Regions from separate parts of the Homo sapiens genome. Here regions 1, 2, 4, 5, 6 and 7 are each linked to region 3. Evidence: promoter capture Hi-C in 16 types of primary human blood cells and fetal thymus (Javierre and others, 2016). All regions are on one chromosome and are shown on one strand. Each heading gives the region's core, a stretch centred on a gene start or on the middle of the fragment in contact. The rest is flanking DNA. Distances are from core to core; before and after follow the strand shown.

Region 1 (3,016 bases), core at 133-2,632, 1.1 Mb before region 3:
GGATGACAAGATGTCCACAACCATATTTAAGTACACATAGTTCTATCCATGGTCAGATGCTGTCAATCACTGGGGAAACAGTGTTCCCATCTGAAACGGTTTGGCTGTGTCCCCACCCAAATCTCATCTTGAATTGTAATCCTCATAATCCCCATGTTAAGGGAGGGACCCAGTGGGAGGTGATTTGATCATGGGAGTGGTCCCCCCATGATGTTCTCATAATAGTGAGTGGGTTCTCACGAGATCTGATGGTTTTATAAGTGTTTGACATTTCCTCCTTCACACACTCACACTCTCCTGTTGCCTTATGAAGAAGATGCCTGCTTCCTCTTCTGTCACGACTGTAAGTTCCATGAGGCCTACTCAGCCATGTGGAACTGTGAGTCAATTAAACCTCTTTCCTTTATAAATTACCCAGTCTCAGGTACTTCTTTATAGCAGTGTGAGAATGGACTAAAAGAGGAATTGGTACTGCGGAGAGTGGGGCCCTGTTATCAAGATACCTGAAAATGTGGAAGCAACTTTGGAACTGCATAACAGGCAGAGGCTGGAACAGTTTGGAGGGCTCAGAGAGAAGACAGAAAGATGTGGGAAAGTTTGGAACTTCCTAGAGACTTGTTGAATGCTTTTGACCAAAATTCTCATAATGATTTGGACAATGAAGTCCAGGCTGAAGTAGTCTCAGATGGAGATGAGGAACTCAATGGGAACTGGAGCAAAGGTCAATCTTGCTATGCTTTAGCAAAGAGGCTGGTGGCATGTTGCTCCTGCCCTAGAGATCTGTGGAACTTTGAACTTGAGAGAGTTGATATGAAATTGGAACTTATGTTTAAAAGGGAAGCAGAGCCTAAATGTTTGGAAAATTTGCAGCCTGACGATGTGATAGAAAATTAAAAACCATTTTCTGGGGAGAAATTCAAGCCAGCTGCAGAAGTTTGCATAAGTAATGAGGAACCAAATGTTAATTGCCAAGACAACGGGGAAAATGTCTCCAGGGCATTTCAGACATCTTGGCAGCAGCACCTCCCATCACAGGCCTGAAGGCCTAGCAGGGAAAAATGGCTTCATGGGCCAGTCCCAGGGTCCCCCTGCTCTGTGCAGCCTCAGAACTTGGTGCCCTGTGTCCTAGCTACTCCAGCTCCAGTTGTGGCTACAAGGGGCCAAGGTACATCTCAGGCTGTTGCTTCAGAGGGTGCAAGCCCCAAGCCTTGGTGGCTTCCACATGGTGTTGGGCCTGCAGGTGCATGGAAGTCCAGAATTGTGGTTTGGGAACCTCCACCTAGATTTCAGAGGATGTATGGAAATGCCTGGATGTCCAGGGAGAAGTTTGCTGCAGGGGTGAAGCCCTCATGGAGGACCTCTGCTGGGGCAGTGCGAAGGCTAAATGAGGGGCTGGAGCCCCCACACAGAGTCCCCACTGGGGCACTGACTAGTGGAGCTATGAGAAGAGAGTCACCATCTTCCAGACCCCACAATGGTAGATGTACTGACAGCTTGCATAGTACACCTGGAAAAGCCACAGACACTCAATGCCAGCTGTGAAAGCAGCCAGGGCAGGGGGCTGTATCCTGCAAAGCCACAGGGGCAGAGCTGCCCAAGGCCATGGGAGCCCATCCTTTGCATCGGTGTGCCCTGGATGTGAGACATGGAGTCAAGGGAGATTATTTTGGAACTTTAAGATTTAATGACTGCCTCACTGGATTTTAGACTTGCATGGGGCCTGTAGCCCCTTTGTTTTGGCCAATTTCTCCCACTCAGAATGGAAGTATTTATTCAATGCCTGTGCTCCCATTGTATCTTGGAAATAACTAACTTGCTTTTAATTTTACAGGCTCCTAGGTGGAAGGGACTTGCCTTGTCTCAGATGAAACTTTGGACTTTTGGGTTAATGCTGAAATGAGTTAGGACTTTGGGGGACTGCTGGGAACAAAAGATTGTGTTTTGAAATGTGAGGACAGGAGTGGTGACTCACGCCTGTAATCCCAGCCAAGGCAGGCAGATCACTTGAGGTTAGGAGTTTGAGACCAGTCTGGCCAACATGGTAAAACCCTGTCTCTACTAAAAATACAAAAATGAGCCAGGTGTGGTGTTGGGTGCCTGTAGTCTCAGCTACTGAGGAGACTGAGGCAGGAGACTTGCTTTAACCCGGGAGGTGGAGGTTGCAGTGAGCCGAGATTGTGCCACTGCACTCCAGGCCGGGTGACAGAGTGAGACTGTCTCATAACAAGAAAAAAAAAAAAAGAAAAAGAAAAAGAAAAAAAAAAAAAGAAATGTGAGGACATGAGATTTGGGAGGGGCCAGGGCGGAAAGATATGGTTTGGTTTTATCCCCACCCAAATCTCACCTTTAACTGTAATCCCAATAATCCCCATGTGTTGAGAGAGGGACCCGGTGGGAGGTGATTGGATCATGGGGGCAGTTTCCCTCATGCTGTTCTCATGATAGTGAATGAATTATGAGATCTGATGGTTTTATGAGTGTTTGACATTTCCTCCTTCACACACTCATATTCCCTCCTGCTGTTCTCATGATAGTGAATGAATTATGAGATCTGATGGTTTTATGAGTGTTTGACATTTCCTCCTTCACACAATCACATTCCCTCCTGCTGCTTTGTGGAGAAGGTGTCTGCTTCCCCTTCTGCCATTCCCTTTCTGCCATTCCCCTTCTTCCATGATTGTAAGTTTCCTGAGGCCTCCCCAGCCATGCAGAACTGTGAGTCAATTAAACCTCTTTCCTTTATAAATTACCCAGTTTTGGGTATTTCTTTTCTTTTCTTTTTTTTTTGAGATGGAGTCTTGCTCTGTCACCCAGGCTGGAGTGCAGTGGTGCAATCTCGGCTCACTGCAAGCTCCGCCTCCTGGGTTCACACCATTCTCCTGCCCCAGGCGCCCGCCACCATGCCTGGCTAATTTTTTTGTATTTTTTAGTAGAGACGGGGTTTCACTGTGTTAGCCAGGATGGTCTCAATCTCCTGACCTCGTGATCCGCCCGCCTCGGCCTCCCAAAGTGCTGG
Region 2 (3,005 bases), core at 506-3,005, 1.4 Mb before region 3:
CACTCTCCCTGTTTCCAAGACAACACCTAATCCACACTCCATATAGCAGCTAGGTGTTCTTTCTAAAACACAAACCTATGCTGTATCCTTGCCTAGAATTCTTTAGTAACTCCTGGGTGCTCTCAGGATCAACACCAAAGTCCTCATCTTGGCATTCTAAACTTGCCAACTTGCCATGATTTGGAAGGGGTGGGGAATTTGAGATGCCAGAAGTAGAAGAAAAGGAGGGGCTATGTCTAGTGTGGATAAGGGAGAAAATCTAGGAGGCAAGAACATGGTGAACTGATATCACACACTTGGAGAAAGCAATAATTCAGAGAAAGAGAAAAGACAGGAAAACAGAAGCCTGCCTTGAATATGCAAGAAATTTGTGTGTTTGTCTATCTTGAATTATCCATGGAACACAGGGATTCATTATATGTTATTTACATAGTAAAAGGTGACCACATAAAGCAGAAGACTTGTGTCCATTTGAATTACATTTATATGTGGAAAGGCACTGAATATTATTTCTGCAACTAACAGTTGTGCTGAATTTTATTATGGTTTCTAATAACTTTTTAGTTGATGCTCTTGGGTTTTCCAGGTCTGCATTTATATATTCAGTAATTAATGATGATTTGTCTATTTCCTATTATTTTACATCTTATTTTGTTCTCTTGAACAGATCCAATTGGTTATGTGAATTTATTATGTGATAGAGGTGCCATTTCAAAGCAGAGAGGGAAAAGATGGATTAGTTTGCACATGATGTAGAGGTAAGAGACTATGATTTTGAAGAGTAATCAAGCTGAATCCGTATAGAAAATAAATTTTGAAATGATCAAACATCTAAATGTAAATAATAAAGCCACAAAAGTGCTTGAAAAAAAAAACGGGGTTTGTTATAGGAGTGTGAAAAGCATCTTTAAGCAAGCAGCAGAATCCAGTTGTGATGAAGGAAAAATGGATATATTTGACTACATAATAATTAAACATTTTTGTTTGGCAAAAATTATCATAAATAACATGAAAAATATTTGTAATATGTGACATGTACAGGAGAGACATTGCTGGCGGGAATGTTATCCATTTACTTTTTAGGAGTAAGTTGACAAATTTTGCATCAAAATGGAAGACTTTTTTGTAGCATTTGAGCTAGCAAAAAATACCATAAATAACAAAAAGTGCACCAAGCAATCTAAATGTACATGTGTACTGGACTGGTTCAATAAATTATGGGACATCTATGCAAGAAAAGATCATGCAGCTGTTTAGAAAAATGTGCACTAACGGAAAGATGTTTTATATATAACTGGAAAAAAACAGGTCGCAGAACAGAAGGTATGTATAGTGTACCATTTGTCGGAGAGAGAACCTGAATAATTAGTATACGAATAGAAAAAAAATCTGGATAGCAAAATGTTAATAGTGGTTATTTCTGGGAGATGAGTGGCCTTTCATTGGTGTGTTATATATTACTGCATTGTTTGAATTTTTACAACAACAACAAAAGAACAACATATTACCTTTGTAATAAGAAAAAATGAAGATATAAAAATAAATTCAATGAATGACTTGCTTTCAGGGGGCGGTTTGAGTTGGAAGAGCTTCAGACTGAGCCTGGTACAGTGGCATAAACATGGGCTTTGGCGTCAGACAGCCCTGAGCGGGGCCCCATTGCCCCACCCCCGAGGAAGGCGAGGGGGGGTGGCAGGGGGCTGCGGAAAGGGGCTGGGCTGGGTTGGGCTGTCTGCAGCTCTAGTCCAGGAGGCTGAGACTTCGAGAGGGACTTAGAGAAGGCAGACGCATCCCGAACTCGCTGGAGGACAAGGTGAGGGGCGTTGATATTGGGGTTTTATGGAGGTCAGACAGTGGTTCCAGACCCCTCGAACCCATAGCCAGGCAGATGAGCAATTCTTACTGCACCACTGCAGCTGAAGCAGAGGTGACCTGGAGTGGGGTGTAGGCAATGAGGACGACTGAGAAAGTAGTAGGCTGTACAGACTGGGAGCAGAGACTAGCGGAGGGAGGAGGGGAGAAAAACGGGGAACCAGGAATGTTGGGAGGGGGACGAGGAATACAAGGAGGGAGGGGAACACTGAGGGGGAGTGAAGATCCAGAGAAGAGAATCGGGGATGCAGAGAGGGATTAAGGAATACTGAGGGGCAGGGTGTGCAAACGTAACACGGAGGAGGATGTAAGAAATGGGAAGAAGGAATTCTGGAGTAAATAGGAAATGTGAGGTAGGAATAGGGAGTAGGGAGCCAGGCTAAGGGAATACGGAGGGGGGCATAAGGAATGAGGAGCAGGGAGCGGGGGAGGGGCAGACAGGCTGGGACGGAGGCCCCCTAGGGAGGCGGAAAGGGGCGGGACCACTTCCGGCCTAGAGAGGGGAGGGCAGTCTCCGAGTTTCGGAGGGGCTTGGAGTGAGTGGACGCACTCGGGAATTGTAGGAGGACGAGGTGAGCAGCCGGGTCGGCTTTTGGATGAGAGCCCCGCTAGGGGTCGGCCCCACCCTCTGGGATCTGGAGAAAACCTGCCTTAAGGACCGGATCGTACCGGATCCATCCGGCTGGGAAGGGAGGGGACTGGACCCGGTTTGGCCGGGCCCAAGATGGAATCACTAGCTCAGTATTTATTTGAGGAGGGGGTGTAATAGGGAAGGGGCGGAACCAAGATGCGCCTGTTTGGAGGGGGGCGTGTTAGGAAGAAGGGCGGGGCCAAGAGACACTGGACTCTGTAGGGCGTGAGTAGGGGAGGGGCCGGGTCCACCAGACACTGCGACAATTTTGGAGGAAGGCTTGTTGGGCAGGGGGCGGGACCGAATGGTACTGCGGACCTGGAGAGGGGCGTGTGTTGGGGCAGAGTGCCAGACTGAGACCACGACCATTGCGCATGCGCACTATGTTTCGCTAGAAAGGGGCGTGTTGAGAAGGGCCAGCACTGAGAAGAGCCAGCTGCTGAATGCGCATGTGCACGGTGGACATCAAAGAAAGGGCTCGTGCTGGGAAAGCGGGCGGGGC
Region 3 (3,071 bases), core at 72-2,571:
GTAAAGCAACCCAAGGCATAGAGATTGGAAACAGCTTGGAATTCCCAGGGATTTGTAATCCAGGTAAAGCCCAGGAGAACAGCAAAATCTCTGCTGCTTGAGAGGCAGACAAAGGCCAGATCACAGCAGGTTAAAGGATGAGTTCCAGGGTGCTGCCTTGGATGTATGGTGGTGCCATTCAGGTAGTTGGTGAACTACAGGAGGAAGAACAGAGTGTTTTGGGGAAAGGAAGGTAGATGAGATGCACAGAAGACATTCAGGCAGAAATATCAACTAAGTAAGTAGACCTATGTGTTCGAAAGTACTGGGCTGAGGCCTTCCGTTTCCTTATTTTTTTAAATAAAGGGCACAGAGAATATAACAGTACCTAGTTCCCAGGGTTGTTATTGGGACTAAATGGGGAAATGTTGAATGTAAAAGCACCTGGCTCAGGGACTTGCCCATATTAGGTGCTGAATACATGGCAGATATTATTATTTCTCCTGTCTCTTTGCTCTTCCTCCCTCTGCTTTGTTTCTTGTCTCTCTTCTTTTTCCTCCTCTTTAAAAGAATTGTGGTAGGGAAGAGGCACTGAAAATGGGCTGTGGTTGCTTGTGACTTCCTGGCCTCCCATTAAAATGAGCTAGAGAGAGACTTTCAGGCAAGCGTAAAGAAATCCTGGAAACATGGCTCCTATCCTGTGGATTCAGCTTTACGGGGATCTTCGCCAATGCCTGGCTGAGAGGCGGTCTCAGGGGGTTGAGAACTCTATTCTTAGAGGTCTGGTATCTGGGAGACTGAGAAAGCCTTTCTTAAGTCTCCCTGCTGGGCCACGCTGTATTCACAGATCATCTTCAACTCCTTCTTCTTCCCCACCTACTCCTTCGCCCTCACCTCCTTGGCTTATCTCTTGCTAGAAAATGCACCAAGCTCCAATCTCCGTTCCTTTTAGCTTCCTCCCTGAGAAGACACTGTGACCTCGCTGTCCTTGTTCGTGTTACCATGGAGAGGTAGGAGGATAAATATCGCTTCCAGTTGTCAGCTTTTTTGTTTTCTCCTTTCCCTCTTAGACAGCCCCCAGCCCCAATCCCAGTACCCGTTTCACCACCCTCCCCTGGAGAATTAGCATAACCGGAGTAAATAGGTAATCAAGCAGTGTGCTTGCAAGCCTTAATTTTGGGACAGATAAGGAAGTGAAATTGATTGGAATTATACCTGCCGCTGCTGGAGGCTGAGGGAGGCGGCCGCCGGAGGCGAGGCCAGCTCTGTCGGCCCAGGGCCCCGCCCCACCCCCTCCTTCCTCCCTCCTCCTTCTCAGCCCCACCCTTCTCCACCTCCTCCCACTTTGCACTCTCCTCTAGCGGCCGCCTGTCCTTTTTAAGGAACTCCACCCTAGGTGGAGTCCTCACGATAGTCACACCTCTCCTTTGGGCCTAGCAGGGCCAGAGAAAGACGGAATCACTCTACCCACTCAGGTTGCCCAGAGAGCACTTTAGGTTCTGACTCGCGTGGGGCGCGAGGTACCCCGTGGGGCAGCTAGGTGCCTCCAAGAAACCCCGCCCCAGAGGACCCGCACGAGTTGCTGCCATTTTTCGCTGAAGCCCCTGCCCTGGGGCTGGTGTTCTTCTCTATGATTCTACCAATCGTCGGCATTTTTTTCCTCCCTTCTTTCTTTTTAGGAAGGCGCTGGGGTGTGCGGCGGCAACGGCGGCGGTGAAGGGATCCTCTTGTGGTATCTCCTCGTGGGTTCCTGTCTTGAAGGATTTCTTCTCCGCCTCAACTTTATGTTCAAGTAGCGCTTTGGGGGTTGGGTTGGTTTTCATAGCCCCCACCCCCGGCCCTCTCCTTTTAAAGGGTGTGTGGAGTTCAGAGGATGGGTGGAGAGCGGGCTTGGCCGGAACTGAATTGGTAGAGGTAAAAGGGGAACGGAGGACCTTAAGCTCTGGCCACTTCGGCCCAGCGAACCCACTTTATTTTTGTCCAAGGAAAAGCTGCAGGGGGGAGGATTCTTTTTAGGAAGTCTACTCTGCCGGCCCCTGATTTTTGGGTTGGATGCTTGAGAGCTTTGTTTCCCTTGTTCCGAGAGTGGCCCAGCTGGGTCTGAATCGACTCCCTCCCCTTTCGACCCCCTCCTCATTTTCCAGCCCGGAGAAATAGGGGAGTGGGGGCCCAAGAACGAGAAGACGAGAACGCGTCGCCCTGCGCTATGTCAGAATGGGGCGGGTGTGAGGGGAACAGCTCTCTTGCGATCAGCTCAGGAGTATGAGCCTCCCGGAGGACGGCATGAGTTCTGGACACTTCAGGAGTCCTCAGCTAGTGACATGGTCGGTAAGTGACTCTGGGACTAATACCCACCCACTCCCACCTCTTTCGTCTAGATTCTATCCCCCTCCCAGTCCCCCTGCTCCCCCCACACACCCCACTTGGGGTTTCAGCAGTGGGGGCGGGAGCGGAAGGTTAAGAACACTATGTGGAATCAAATGAAACTCAAGGGAAAATGACTTTGCTAAAGGGCTGGGCAAAGAAAGGCCAAGAAGGAGAGGAGAGAGCTTGGTGGAAGAAGTGAAAGGGGGCAAGAATGGATGGATTTGTCTAGTCTAGTCTCCCCTGGCTCGGCACTCCCAATACTCCTTAAGCGGTAAGGATTGTCTTTGACTTAACCCCACACAGCCAAAGTCACAACCAGAGAGAACAGGATTCACAAGGCCAAAGCTCCCAGGTAACCCCCTGAAGCCATAGCGGGTACCTAGAGAAGCTTCTGAAAAGAAGGAGGAGGGGACAGTGGTTTAAGGTGCAAAGTTAGGCTATTGGAGGCACAGAGTGAGGCCTGGAAGCAGCTGCGGGGGAGGAGCTGCTTTGGGCGTGCCAGCTCTTTAAGGAGGGGCTGAGCTTGGTTGGAGAAGGAAGCCAGAGCCTAGGCTCTGCTCCGGCCCTTTAAGACGTGGCCAAGGCAGTTGGTTCGTCTGTGTAGGTGGAAGACTGACTGGGCCGAGTTGCTGTGATTGCTGAAGTGAATCCATTTGTTTAGCCACTTGGCGGAGCTGTCTTTTTGTGGGCTTTTTTTTTTAACCCTAAGAATTTGGGAAAAAATA
Region 4 (2,885 bases), core at 126-2,625, 1.3 Mb before region 3:
TCAGGATTTTATCCAGGAGAACTTCCCAAACCTGGCAAGATAGGCCAACATTCAAATTCAGGAAATACAGAGAACACCACTAAGATACTCCATGAGAAGACCAACCCCAAGACAGATAATAATCAATTCTCCAAGGTTGAAATGAAGGAAAAAATATTAAGGGCAGCCAGAGAGAAAGTCCAGGTCACTTACAAAGGGAAGCTGATCAGACTAACAGCAGACCTCTCAGCAGAAACCCTGCAAGCCAGAAGAGAGGGGTGGGCAATATTCAATATTCTTAAAGAAAAGAATTTTCAACCCAGAATTTCATATCCAGCCAAACTAAGCTTCATAAGTGAAGGAGAAATAGGATCCCTTTCAGACAAGCAAATACTGAGGGATTTCATCACCACCAGGCCTGCCTTGCAAGAGCACTAAATATGGAAAGGAAAAACCAGTACCAGCCACTGCGAAAAAACACCAAAATATACACTTGATCTTAGCCAAAAGGCTGAGAAGCAATAAACACACCAAAATATAAAGACCAACGACACTATGAAGAAACTGCATCAATTAGTGTGCAAAATAACCATATAGCATCAAGATGACAGGATCAAACTCACACATAACAATATTAACCTTAAATTTACATGAGCTAAAAGCCCCAATTAAAAGACACAGATTGGCAAATTGGATAAAGAGTCAAGACCCATCAATGTGCTGTATTCAGGAGATGTGCAAAGACACACATAGGCTCAAAATAAAGGAATGGAGGAAAATTTACCAAGCAAATGGAAATAAAAAAAAAGCAGGGGTTGCAATCCTAGTCTCTGATAAAACAAACTTGAAACCAACAAAGATAAAAAAAGAGAAGGGCATTACATAATGGTAAAGGGGTCAATTCAACAAAAAAAGCTAATTATCCTAAATATATATCCACCCAATACAGGAGCACCAAGATTAATAAAACAAGTTCTTAGAGATCTACAAAGAGACTTAGACTCACACACAATAATAGTGGGAGACTAACACCCCACTGTCAATATTAGACAGATCAACAAGACAGAAAATTAACAAAGATATCCAGGACATGAACTCAGCTCTGAATCAAGTGGACCTAATAGATATCTACAGAATTCTCCACCCCAAATTAACAGAATATACATTCTTTTCAGTGCCACATGGCACTTATTCTAAAATCAACCACATAATTGAAAGAAAAACACTCCTCAACAATTGCAAAAGAACTGAAATAATAACACACTGTCTCTCAGACCACAGTGCAATCAAATTAGAACTCAGATTAAGAAATTCACTCAAAACCGCACAACTACATGAAAATTGAACAACCTGCTTCTGAATGACTCCTGGGTAAATAATGAAATTAATGCAGAAATAACGAAGTTCTTTGAAACCATTGAGAACAAAGAGACAACATACCAGAATCTGTGGGATGAAGCTAAAGCAGTGTTAAGAGGGAAATTTAAAGCACTAAATGCCCACATCAGAAAGCTCGAAAGATCTCAAATCAAAATCCTAACATCACAACTAAAAGAACTAGAGGAGCAAGAGCAAACAAATCCAAAGCTAGCAGAAGACAAGAAATAACTAAGATCAGAGCAGAACTGAAGGAGAGAGAGACATGAAAAACCCTTCAAAAAATCAATGGCTTGGAACCAACCCAAATGCCCATCAATGATAGACTGTATAAAGAAAATGTGCCACATATACACCATGGAATACTATGCAGCCATAAAAAGAAATGAGATTATGTCCTTTGCAGGGACATGGATGAAGCTGGAAGCCGTCATTCTCAGCAAACCAACACAGGAAGAGAAAACCAAATTCCTTATGTTCTCTCTCATAAATGGGAGTTGAACAATGAGAACACATGGACTCAGGAAGGGGAACAACACTCACCAGGGCCTATTGGTGGGTGGGAGGCGAGGGGAGGGAACCTCGATGACTGGTTAATAGGTGCAGGAAACCATCATGGCACACGTATACCTATGTAACAAACCTGCAGGTTCTGCACATGTATCCCGGCACTTAAAGTTAAAAAAAAAAAAGAAAGGAATACTAACAATTTTAATTCTTATTTCAAAATAGAGCATGTCTAGTAAAAAAATTATTAATGACATAAAATAATTGACTAAAACATTTACAAATTGAGTATATATGTGTGTATAGGTAAATCTACACACACATATGTAAATATATACACACATTTTTTCCATAGATCCATAAAACATGCCATAGAGCAATCATTGAGCTTTCATAATCTGTGTCTGCCTTTTGCTTTGTAGTTTGGAGACCCTAAGATTAGTCACACGTAGATTCATATGTTTGATCAGCTAAGTTTTTGAGAAGGGACGTATGTGAAAAAAAATCAGTAGTAAATTGGTCTAGGTAACACGTAGACATCTGTACGTGGATTATTGGAACTTAAGCTTATTGGAACACAAAGAAAGAAGAGGTTATTTCTACTTGTGTTGAGAAAGATGGAGAGACAGAAAAGGCTTCATAGAGAAATGGTTACTTGGGTTGAGATAACACACAAATGAGACCTAATATCCATTAAATCGACAAGGTTCAGGGAAGGATGGTTCTGGTTAGAAGAGATGGCATGTGTAGAAGTATACAACATACATAGGGACATGATACAGCATGGCATAGAGGGAGAAAGCATTTCTTCACTCCAAACTAATGAGAGCCTCCCCTTTAGAGTATACTGCCACGAGGTGGCAGTAGGAGTCTTATTCTTGTGTTCTGAGGCATTGGTATGGCTGGTTAACTAGCCAACAGCTAAATCAGGAACGCAATCCCATTCACAATTACCATACACAAAAAATAAAATTCTTAGAAATACAGCTAACCAGGGATGTGAAAAGTCTCTAAAATGAGAA
Region 5 (2,971 bases), core at 363-2,862, 1.1 Mb before region 3:
ATTCCAGGGTAAGTGATTTTTAACTCCTTCAATAAGATCGTAAGACATGTGTGTCTGCCAGTGTCTACTCTTAAGTTCTTATGCCAGTGGTGTAGCGACACTGAAGAGATATTTCTTGTATGCTGAATGTGGTTAGGCACTTACTGTTGCTATACCAGCTAATATTATGACATAGTTACTCCACTAGATTGTCACCATGAGATTGTGGCTGATTACTTCCTTGAAACATTCTTTTCTCAAAATTGTTTTCAATGATTGGTAAGATTACATCTTCAGTTTCAAGTTCCTTGTCAATAAGTAATCAGATTGCAGCGTTTGACATAGTTTTCACAGCACTCTATTATTAACCAGACATTTGCTTAGAGACTTACTTTTGAGTTTTTGGTACTCCTAAGAATGGCTGAGTTTACTCATTTTTATAATTTCATTACTCTTTAATCAATTCTCATCTCTAGGAGACTGAGTACTAGGAGACTCTAGGAGACTGAGTACTGAGTACAAAATGCCAAATAAAAAATCACGTAGAAAACTGCTCCTATATTACACTCCATTATGAAATGATTGATTATATATAAAGAAAAAATGACCGGGTGTAAATATTATTTTATTTCACAATGTTTATTGAGCATCCACTAAGTGCTAGGCACTCCTCCAGGTGCCAGGATAAAAGAGTGAAACAAACACATGCCACAGCTCTGCCTTCATTAGGGAGCATGGTGATGTTTGTCTTTGATCATGGTATTTTGAGTATTTGAGTATTTTGCGCTCAAGTTTTACTGAAACTTTCAACAGCTTACAATACGTTTGCATTGTTTTTAAAACAGAGTAATACTATGAAAATGATTTTTCAAAGTGTGAAGCTGAGTTTAAAAAGCGGAATGTTCATGAAACAATGTTAATCTCATTTTTTAAAATGCAACTTTACGAATGAAAAACATCTAAGGAAATTTATCACAGAATATGATTAATGGTCACGGCTGGGTGATCGGACTGTGGATAAGATTGGTTTCCTTTATTACGCTTTAACAGTCTAACCAAGTTTTCTACCATGAGATTCAGAGACGTTTGTAATGAAAGAATACATTGATAAAGGTCCATAGAACCCCAGTAACACGTGGAGAAAGATGACAAAACCAATCAGAGAAACAGAAATACCAGTTGCTAGGGTACCTAGCAGCCTCACCGAGGAAATGCCAATTTGAAAAACAGAATGCTATTGTCCACTGACTGAGTTTTCGCGAGGGACCACATCCCCACCTCACCCCCGCCTCCAGGGCTTGTAAGGCACTGACAACCAAAGAACCAGCATGTTCTTTCGGAGAAGGCTTCGCGGGATTTTTTTTCAAGCACGAAGGGCGGGGCACGAGGCAAGCAGGGCCGCGCCACCGGCCAACACTGTCACCTGCAGGTCATGAGAGCCGAGCGCCACCAACCCCGGAAGAAAATACATATCCGCTGCGTTTCCGCCCTGAGCCCCGAGATCTTGGCTGAGAAAGCAAAGCGTGATGACCGTGGGGACCAGAGCTCGGACTGGTACCGGCCGGAAAGGCCCCGACGAACTTACCGTACAGGGCAGCCTCCCATAGTCCTGCCCTCGGAACCATAGCAACCGCGCAGGAAGTTCCTGCGCCGCCGGAAAAACGCAGCCCGGAGGGCGGGGCTGGCCAAGGATTGACGGGCTCTGGGCCTGCGCATCGGAGCCCGGGGAGGTCGGCTCCTGTTTCCTCTGGGTCCGCCGCAGGCTCCCTTCCCTGCAGTTGGGAGCTGACGCCTGAGGGACGATCCGCTGAGGGTCAGGCTCTGCTGCGCGACTGCCCGAGCCGCCCCATGTTCGAGACCTGTGCCAATCCCATGGACATTCTCCTCCCACCCAGCCAGCCTCTGAACACGCTTCTCACGTGGCACACGCCCTGTCCTCGCAGCCCTCACACCGCTGATCCTCCTCGGCGACCTCAGCGCCCCCGGGGCTGACCAGGCCGTGGCCGGCGCCTCTCCGTCCTCGGGGGGGTCTCCTTCCCCCCACTTAAGTCTCTTCTGCCCGCGGTCATGCCCTGGGCCTCAGGAAAGACCGCGCCCCTCCACGATGTCCATTTCTTGCATCCCCCATTCTCATAACGGGCAGCACCCGATCGTGTCCTAACAGCTACCTCTTCCAGTGCCCCAGCATCCACAGCCTTTAGCCTCAAGGAGGCCTCCTCTCCACTAACCACAACCGCGTTCCTCACCATTCACCTTCCTTAGCCAGCTTACCCAAAGCTATTAACTCTCTCCTCCCTACTCTCCTGGCAGTCCCCCCGCCGCCAAGTAGACAAACAATGTACACCCTCCACAAGTGTACCTTCTCTGTCTAGTCTACTTACAAGATCCCTCCACAAGCACCAGCACCCAATTTTCTCATGATATTCACTGATATTCCCTTGAGAAAATAGAAGCAATCAGAGAAGAATTCACACCACTTCCCAACAGCAGTAGACCTGCACTTATAATCTTGGCTGCTTCCCTGGAGGAAGAGACAGGATCCTACTTGAGACCAGGCCCTTCACCTGGATCCTATGCCTTCCACCTTCTTAAGGGATCATCCTTTGCAGTTATGCTTTCTCCTGAATTATCATGTTCCTCTATCTGTATTTATTATCTAAAAAGTTGGCAAAGGGAGTGCTAGAGTTTAGGCTGATCCTGGTTCTTGCTGTTAAGTAGGTGATCTCACAGGGGGCTGCATTCCCTGAGGATGGAAGGGAAGATGTGGAAAGTGGCTGATTCAAGAACTAAAGATCATGCCATAAAGGAAGCCTAACCCAGCTAGGGGCTAGGTGACCCTGCAGCCGAGGCTGTGGAGTAGACAGCCCTGGACAGGGGACTTTTAGACTGCCATGTTTGTCGCTGCATTGTGCAATTTTAACAAGAATCCTGCTAAGTCAGTTTAGTTAGAATTTCCCATCATCAATATCTCAGTTAGGTTCCTCATCCCCCA
Region 6 (2,930 bases), core at 13-2,512, 1.1 Mb before region 3:
GTACAGAACTGTTGTATTTTCTTGGCCCATCAGGGGTGTTTTTTGGTGGATATGTAATCACAATCGCATCATGGTGTGCCCTACTCAGCTCAGTGACTCTGGTGTGGGCATGTAAGAATAGGGAATAATGGAAATATAGCATGTGATACAGAATTTGTAGCATATGGGACTTTTCAAAGCTACTTACAGAGACAGAATCAAGTTTGGATTAGTAGAGCCATTGCTTATTAATGTCTTTCAGTGCTTGTAAATTGTCAGTCACTCCCCTAAAGTCACTCCTCAGAGAACGTAGACTCCTCCAGGGTGGATTCCTCTGCCTCTTTTGATCACTGTTGTATGCACAGCAGCTAGCACAGTGCCCAGCACACCATAGGCCATCACAGGTAACTCTGGATTGAATTAATGGATCTCCTCTCCCAGGAGACTGTGAGACCCTTTGAAGCAGCCTCGTTGTCTGGGGTAAATACCAAGGTTCTTGGTCTCATGGCCAAGGAGATCGAGATCGCAGACACACACACAGACAGGGTGAGTTTGGAGAAGGAGTTTAATAGGCAAAAGGAAAGAACAGCTCTCCATCACAGAGAGGGGTCCTGAGCCAGTTGCCAAGTTGTAGTAAAAATGTCAGGGTTTTTATAAATGGGCTAGCAGCGAGGAGGGGGCTTGTGAAGAGGGGATGTCTTATCCTCCTAGGGCCTGACAGTTTAGTTAGGACGAGGTGTGCTATCTGTACAGAGCAGAGTTTTTGTTTTGTTTTGTTTTTTTTTTTTATCAGCTCTTATCCCATTCCCTGACCACATAGGCTGACTCTTAGTCTGTGTTTCTTTGTCCTGCTTATCTGGGAGGGAGAGTTTCTGTGTCTGTTTCAGTACATCTTCTTGCAGCTGCAGGCATCCCCTGGAGTGTGTTTTTAGCTTCTCTAGCTTAGTGTGCCTAAAGGGAAAAGAATGTCCTTATTAAGGCCCACTGTTTTACTGGGGCCCATTGTATAAGTGTGAAGTTTGATAATTACCCAGGAGACTTCCCCCACCTCCTTCTGTGTCTGAGCTGTCTTATCTGTGTTTTACTGTCTGCTCTTTCAGGTTGCTTGTTGTTAGAAGAGAAGTGATTTCTTTGAATTGCATAAGGTTAGAAAGGGAGCTATTTTTGAGCTGCTTTTTGTTAAAAGGAGTTTTCTGCCAGGGACTGGCTTTATCATGTCTACCTAAATAATTTCTTTCTGCCTCCTATGACACCTTGAGGGCAAGAACTATGTTTAATTGGTCTTTGCAGATCCAGCATCAGTTGGCTGGATGAAACCTGCTAAATGTCACTGAGTTCCTGTTTATTGAATTAACTAACTTCATTTGGAAGTAAGACTGACAGAAACCTCCCCTCAATCTTCCCATTCCAATCCAGAGTTTGTATATTTATGTTATCCTGCAAACACTTCTAGTCAGCTGTAAGATTCAGGGATGACGATGAGAACCTGATTAACTTTTCCGTGAACTCCACACAAAAGATGACATAATTCTTAGCAGAGTATGACTTAGGATAGCATTTCCTAGAACCCTGCAATTCAAGAGTCGCTTTTACAGTTGCTGCTTTCCCTGCACTTCAGTTCTACTGTTTTATGATGATGCCATACTTAATTTTAGAAAAATCTCTTGGCATAAAACAAAATGATACTCTGAAATATTTTAAAACAAAGTGCCAAACAGGCGTAAGTTATGAGACTTTAATCATTTGTGCTATGTAAACCCATCATGTATCTTCTGCTGGTACCCTCCAGACAAAGAACGTGAGGAACACCTTGAACAAAGTCTCACGGAGGGAGAAAACATACACCACGGAGCACATTGGGGCATCTCATTAATATGGTGCTAGAATGTACTTCTTAGAATCTTTTCTATAGGACTTGGGCTTATGTTAGGTGATTTGCAGGAGGACTCAAAAAGTGGGGCTTTTCTCTAATTGAACACCGTCAGGAAGTGGGGGATAATTCTATGATTAAGTATTGTTAATGTAAAAAAAAACAGGATTATAAATTTGGAAAAAGGAGACTATTTCTTATAAAGGGTTACAGCCTGCAAGGTGGCCTTCTCACAGGCTGGGAAGCATAGCCTCTGGCAAAGATCAGAGAGGTGCACTTCAAAGAAGGAGGGGTTGGGGTAAGGTGCTTTATTCTGAACAGATTGGCTAAATATACATATTCATCAGGTTACAGAAGAAGCTAGAAATATTCATGAAGGTGGTCCTGATGCATGCTTATTGAACAAACGTATGTAACATATGACCCATGTTAACCTTGTGGTGAAGATGTTAACATTTAAACATATTACAATTAGGCCCTATATGTCAAAAGGTCTTCTCAGGATGCAAAAGCACTCAAGTGGGAAGCCTCTGTAAACTGACCAGAACCAGTCCATGATTGGTGGTCTTCTTATCTGGAGAAAGTTCCTGAAATCAGTCTCTTGTCCAATCAAAGTTGTCATTATGGCTTGTGAAACAGGAGGTCAGTTAGTATCTGGTGATAAGCTACAATTATTTTAATATTGCTTATCTCTAGACCAGTGCTCCTTTGGCTGCTAGAGAAAAAGAAACACCTTGTAGCAGTTAGAACAGAGTTTGTTACTCTTGTCTGGCATGGCTTTAGGTCTTGTTTGTAGTTTGGTATCTTGTTGCCACAAAGAGTCCATTCTGTCAGTCTTATGATCTCTGTTTTAACATTAATGCTGGGAAGCTGCTGTGTCTTAACCATAAAAGGGAGAGGGGTTTAACGGGGCATGTCTGACTTCCCTTCCCTTCATGGCCAGGAGCTCAGCTTTGTTACTGAGAACCTTCATTTTTTTAGAGGTTGTTTAATTATTTTTTCCTCTCTCTCTCTTTTCTCATTTCCCCAGCTCTCCATTTCCTACTTAGTCCATAGAAATACAAATATAACCCTTCACTTC
Region 7 (3,269 bases), core at 470-2,969, 1.4 Mb after region 3:
TTCAATAGTTTACTGGGGGTGGTGATGGGGTCCCAGACAGAGCAGTAGAGCAAGAAAAAGAAATAAGATATTTGGAAAGGAAGAAGAAAGACTGGCACTATTTACAGATGATATGACAGTGTACATAAAATTCCACAAAGTATTACAGACAAATTATTAGAATCAATAGAAGAGTTTATACGCTTGTAGGATAAAATCTTAATGAACAAAAGTCAATTGCATCCTATTTATTTACCAGAAACAAATTTAGACAGTAAAAATTCCAAACAGGATTTGCACAATATGAAGTGCCTAGGACAAAAAAGTTGCCTTTTGGGAAAAATATAAAGTATTACTTGGGCACATTAAAGGAGACCTTATTAAAAGGAGAGACAGACCAAAGCCATGAACCAAACTTTCAATATTGAGAAGTCAAATCTAAAATATCAGCACAATATGAATTAGAACCCCAAACTAGCTGTTGGTTGAAGTTTTTATGATGAGTTTATAATTTAAATGGAATTGAAATGGGCCAAAAGTAGCCAAGACACTTTTGAAGAAAGATGTAGAATTTACTGCCTTATCCAAATATCAGAATTGACTATGGATCTGTAGTAATTAAGACAGTGTGATATTTCAAACAAATAGGGCCGAGCACTTAATAGCGAGTATAGGAACTAGCCCACATATGGGTAGATACTTGATTTATGGCACTGTAAATCAGTTGGCAAAAGGCAGACTTTTCAATAAGTGGTTCACTGAGAAAACTGGATATTCAAACAAATAAATAAATAAATAAATAAATGGAACCCCACTCAACACAATATACAAACATCAATTGCAGGTGGATTAAGACCTGACTGTGAAGGGCAATAGCATACGTATTTTGGAAGAAAATATAGAAAACGCTTTCATGGCCCAGGGTTTCTTAAAACAGAAAAGATTTCTTAAAACAGATTTCTTAAAACAAAAACACACTAACCATCAGGAAAAGAATGATGAATTTGACTATATTATAATTAAGATCTTCTGTTCACAAAACACAGCACAAAGCAATGGGAAATACAAACAGAACAAGGGAATATTTTGGCCACAGGTATGGACTAGTATTTAAAATATTTAACAGGCTCATTAAGTCAGTAAGTACTAGATGAACAATAGAATAGAAACATGGGTTAAAAGAGGTAAATTTGAATAGGCCTTCTTCGGAGTAGACACTCCAAAAGGCTCATAAACACGAAAATGTGCTAAAGCTTACTAGTAATTTGGGTATTGCCCACCAGTAGACTGGCAAAATTTAAATTCTGGCAATACTTGGTGTGGGTGAAGATGTGGAGCAGTAGGGGCTCTCTGTGCTGCTGGTGGGATTGACAGCTTGCCCAATCACTACAGAGAACAATTTGGCATCATCTAGTAAAGCTCAGGATATCCATACCCTATGGCCCTGTGATTCTATTCTTGGATATATACCCTAGAGAGATTTTTACACATGTGTCCCATGAGAAATGTGCAAGAATGTTCATAATAATCGCTGAAAAATAGAAGCAATCCTAATGTTCATCTGCTGTAGAATGGAGTGGTATAATCATACCATAATCACTTTGCTATAAGCATATGCTGGAACGACAGTCGATGGAGACAAAGGATCTACTTACTTATAACTATTATGAACAACATGGATGAGTCTCAAGTATAATACAGAGTGAAAGAAACAAGTTATAAAAGGAAACTTGCCGTATGATTCCATTTATACAACTTCGTATCAACTCTATTGTTTACGGATGCGTACAAAAGTGATAAAGCTATAAAGGAAAGCAGTGAAATGATTATTACAAAGTCAGGGCAATGACTATATTCATATAGGAGAGTGTGGGTTGTGATTGGGAGGAGTACAGCGGCTGTATTCTGGAAGGCTGGCAGTGGTCTATTGCTTGACCTTGGTCCTGGTTACACAGGTGTCTGCTTTTGTAAAATAATCTAAACGATACAAATATGTTTTATGCACTCTTCTATACCTCAGATTTGAAAAATGCTTCCACCAGAAAAAGTAATAGAAAGAAAAGTATGTGGAGTAGACATTTTGATGAGGTTCAAATAGTTATGGATGAATAGCTTGATTTTCAAGAGACCAAGTGTCCACTGTCATTAAAAGAGGGCGAGAGAGCTGGGAGTATTTAAACAACAGGTTACACCCCGCTCCCCCACCACCACCAATCTAGTCATTACTCTAAGCTTTCTTATCTCAGATATTTCACCCTATATTTGTGTCAATTCCCAACTCAGTCGTAACGGACAAAATGAAGGATTGTCATCATCATTAATAAGATCATTAGGCACCACAGGCCCAGCAAGCCTGGGCCACCACACTTAAATGTGAACAGGTACACCAGGTTGATTGGACAAGATCGTCTGTGCCTTTTACTTGGCAGAATCCATTGCAGTGACTCAGGATTTAACCTAAACACATTTAACTGAAACTCCTGCCCAGAGACCTCCACGTGCTGGAGAAGGCAGAGTAAACTGAGGAATGAATGCCCTCATTGTGCTGTGAGAGCAGACATGAAATTTATCACAGTACAACCGATGGTGGAAGGGCAAAAGTTGGTTTAGGTTGTGCACTGTATAGGGAGAAGCCAGGAGAAGGTTGGGTTTTTTCCAGATTTCAGTGTAAATTGTTTCATCCTCCAGACTTTGAATTTCTAGGCTGAAGAGTGCTAACCTGTTTTGGCCGCATCTCTCACTCATTCTAATGTCTGTATCAGCAAGACAAAATTTGAACTATGCGGCAAATTGTACCGAAGACTTTGCTCAAGATAATTGTGAATATGGAAGTTGTCCCGCGGGGAGGTGGGAAGGGGAAGGACATTTTCAGCAGAACTGCCAGCGCTATGGTGGTTTAATGCTGACACAGAGACAGTTTTTTCTCTCAGGAATTGTCTTTCATCCATCAGTCCAGCCAGCCAGCCAGCCAGCAAATTTTAACACACAGAAAGTACGAAGCAACATATCTAACACTGGGAGGGGCTGGGGTGTGTTTATTTGGGTATATACAATGAGTCATGGATTAAAATTGCTTCCAGCGGATAGATACCTAGGTGTTCCACAGCATTACTGAACAAGCTGTCGTCATTTCCCCATTACCTCAGAAGACCCCCTTAATTACTTACTTATATTAACTGTAGAACGTATTTATGCATACCAGGCTCTACCTCTGGGCTTTCTATTCTGTTCCAGAGACCCAGTACCAGAATATTTAAATCACTGTGGCGTTAAATACGTTTTAATATCTG

The links. Contacts are between HindIII fragments. The CHiCAGO score rates a contact against its expected background, and 5 or more counts as called.
Region 1: a contact is called between a fragment that was not itself captured here and the fragment with the promoter of KLF8 in region 3, in 1 of 17 cell types (M0 macrophages). The highest score is 6.1, in M0 macrophages.
Region 2: the fragment with the promoter of MAGED2 here is called in contact with the fragment with the promoter of KLF8 in region 3 in 1 of 17 cell types (total B cells); the score reaches 5.1 in total B cells.
Region 4: a fragment that was not itself captured here is called in contact with the fragment with the promoter of KLF8 in region 3 in 2 of 17 cell types (naive CD4 T cells and naive CD8 T cells); the score reaches 5.7 in naive CD4 T cells.
Region 5: the fragment with the promoter of VCF2 here is called in contact with the fragment with the promoter of KLF8 in region 3 in 9 of 17 cell types (M2 macrophages, M0 macrophages, M1 macrophages and 6 more); the score reaches 9.5 in M2 macrophages.
Region 6: a contact is called between a fragment that was not itself captured here and the fragment with the promoter of KLF8 in region 3, in 1 of 17 cell types (naive CD8 T cells). The highest score is 8.6, in naive CD8 T cells.
Region 7: a fragment that was not itself captured here is called in contact with the fragment with the promoter of KLF8 in region 3 in 1 of 17 cell types (M0 macrophages); the score reaches 5.3 in M0 macrophages.

What each region holds. Positions count from the first base shown.
Region 1 is chrX:55,138,452-55,141,467 of GRCh38, forward strand. It overlaps the pseudogene LOC100421179. Among named protein-coding and RNA genes, the nearest start is that of VCF2, 21 kb to the right of the region's middle. The HindIII fragment of the contact is 6,628 bases long and covers 1-3,016 here.
Region 2 is chrX:54,805,990-54,808,994 of GRCh38, forward strand. It overlaps MAGED2 (MAGE family member D2), which reads left to right and starts at 1,756. Exons shown (of 13, transcript NM_177433.3): 1 at 1,756-1,813. The HindIII fragment of the contact is 6,434 bases long and covers 1-3,005 here.
Region 3 is chrX:56,231,035-56,234,105 of GRCh38, forward strand. KLF8 (KLF transcription factor 8) reads left to right here and starts at 1,322. Exons shown (of 6, transcript NM_007250.5): 1 at 1,322-2,307. The coding sequence starts at 2,301. The HindIII fragment of the contact is 3,283 bases long and covers 1-2,732 here.
Region 4 is chrX:54,889,059-54,891,943 of GRCh38, forward strand. No RefSeq gene overlaps it. Among named protein-coding and RNA genes, the nearest start is that of TRO, 30 kb to the right of the region's middle. The HindIII fragment of the contact is 2,103 bases long and covers 325-2,427 here.
Region 5 is chrX:55,159,573-55,162,543 of GRCh38, forward strand. VCF2 (VCP nuclear cofactor family member 2) reads right to left here and starts at 1,613. Exons shown (of 3, transcript NM_001166701.4): 1 at 1,565-1,613. The coding sequence starts at 1,584. RefSeq lists enhancers at 1,276-1,575, 1,401-1,901, 1,902-2,402. The HindIII fragment of the contact is 5,872 bases long and covers 1-2,971 here.
Region 6 is chrX:55,120,170-55,123,099 of GRCh38, forward strand. No RefSeq gene overlaps it. Among named protein-coding and RNA genes, the nearest start is that of PAGE2, 33 kb to the left of the region's middle. The HindIII fragment of the contact is 3,739 bases long and covers 1-2,930 here.
Region 7 is chrX:57,588,652-57,591,920 of GRCh38, forward strand. No RefSeq gene overlaps it. Among named protein-coding and RNA genes, the nearest start is that of ZXDB, 1.7 kb to the right of the region's middle. The HindIII fragment of the contact is 979 bases long and covers 1,231-2,209 here.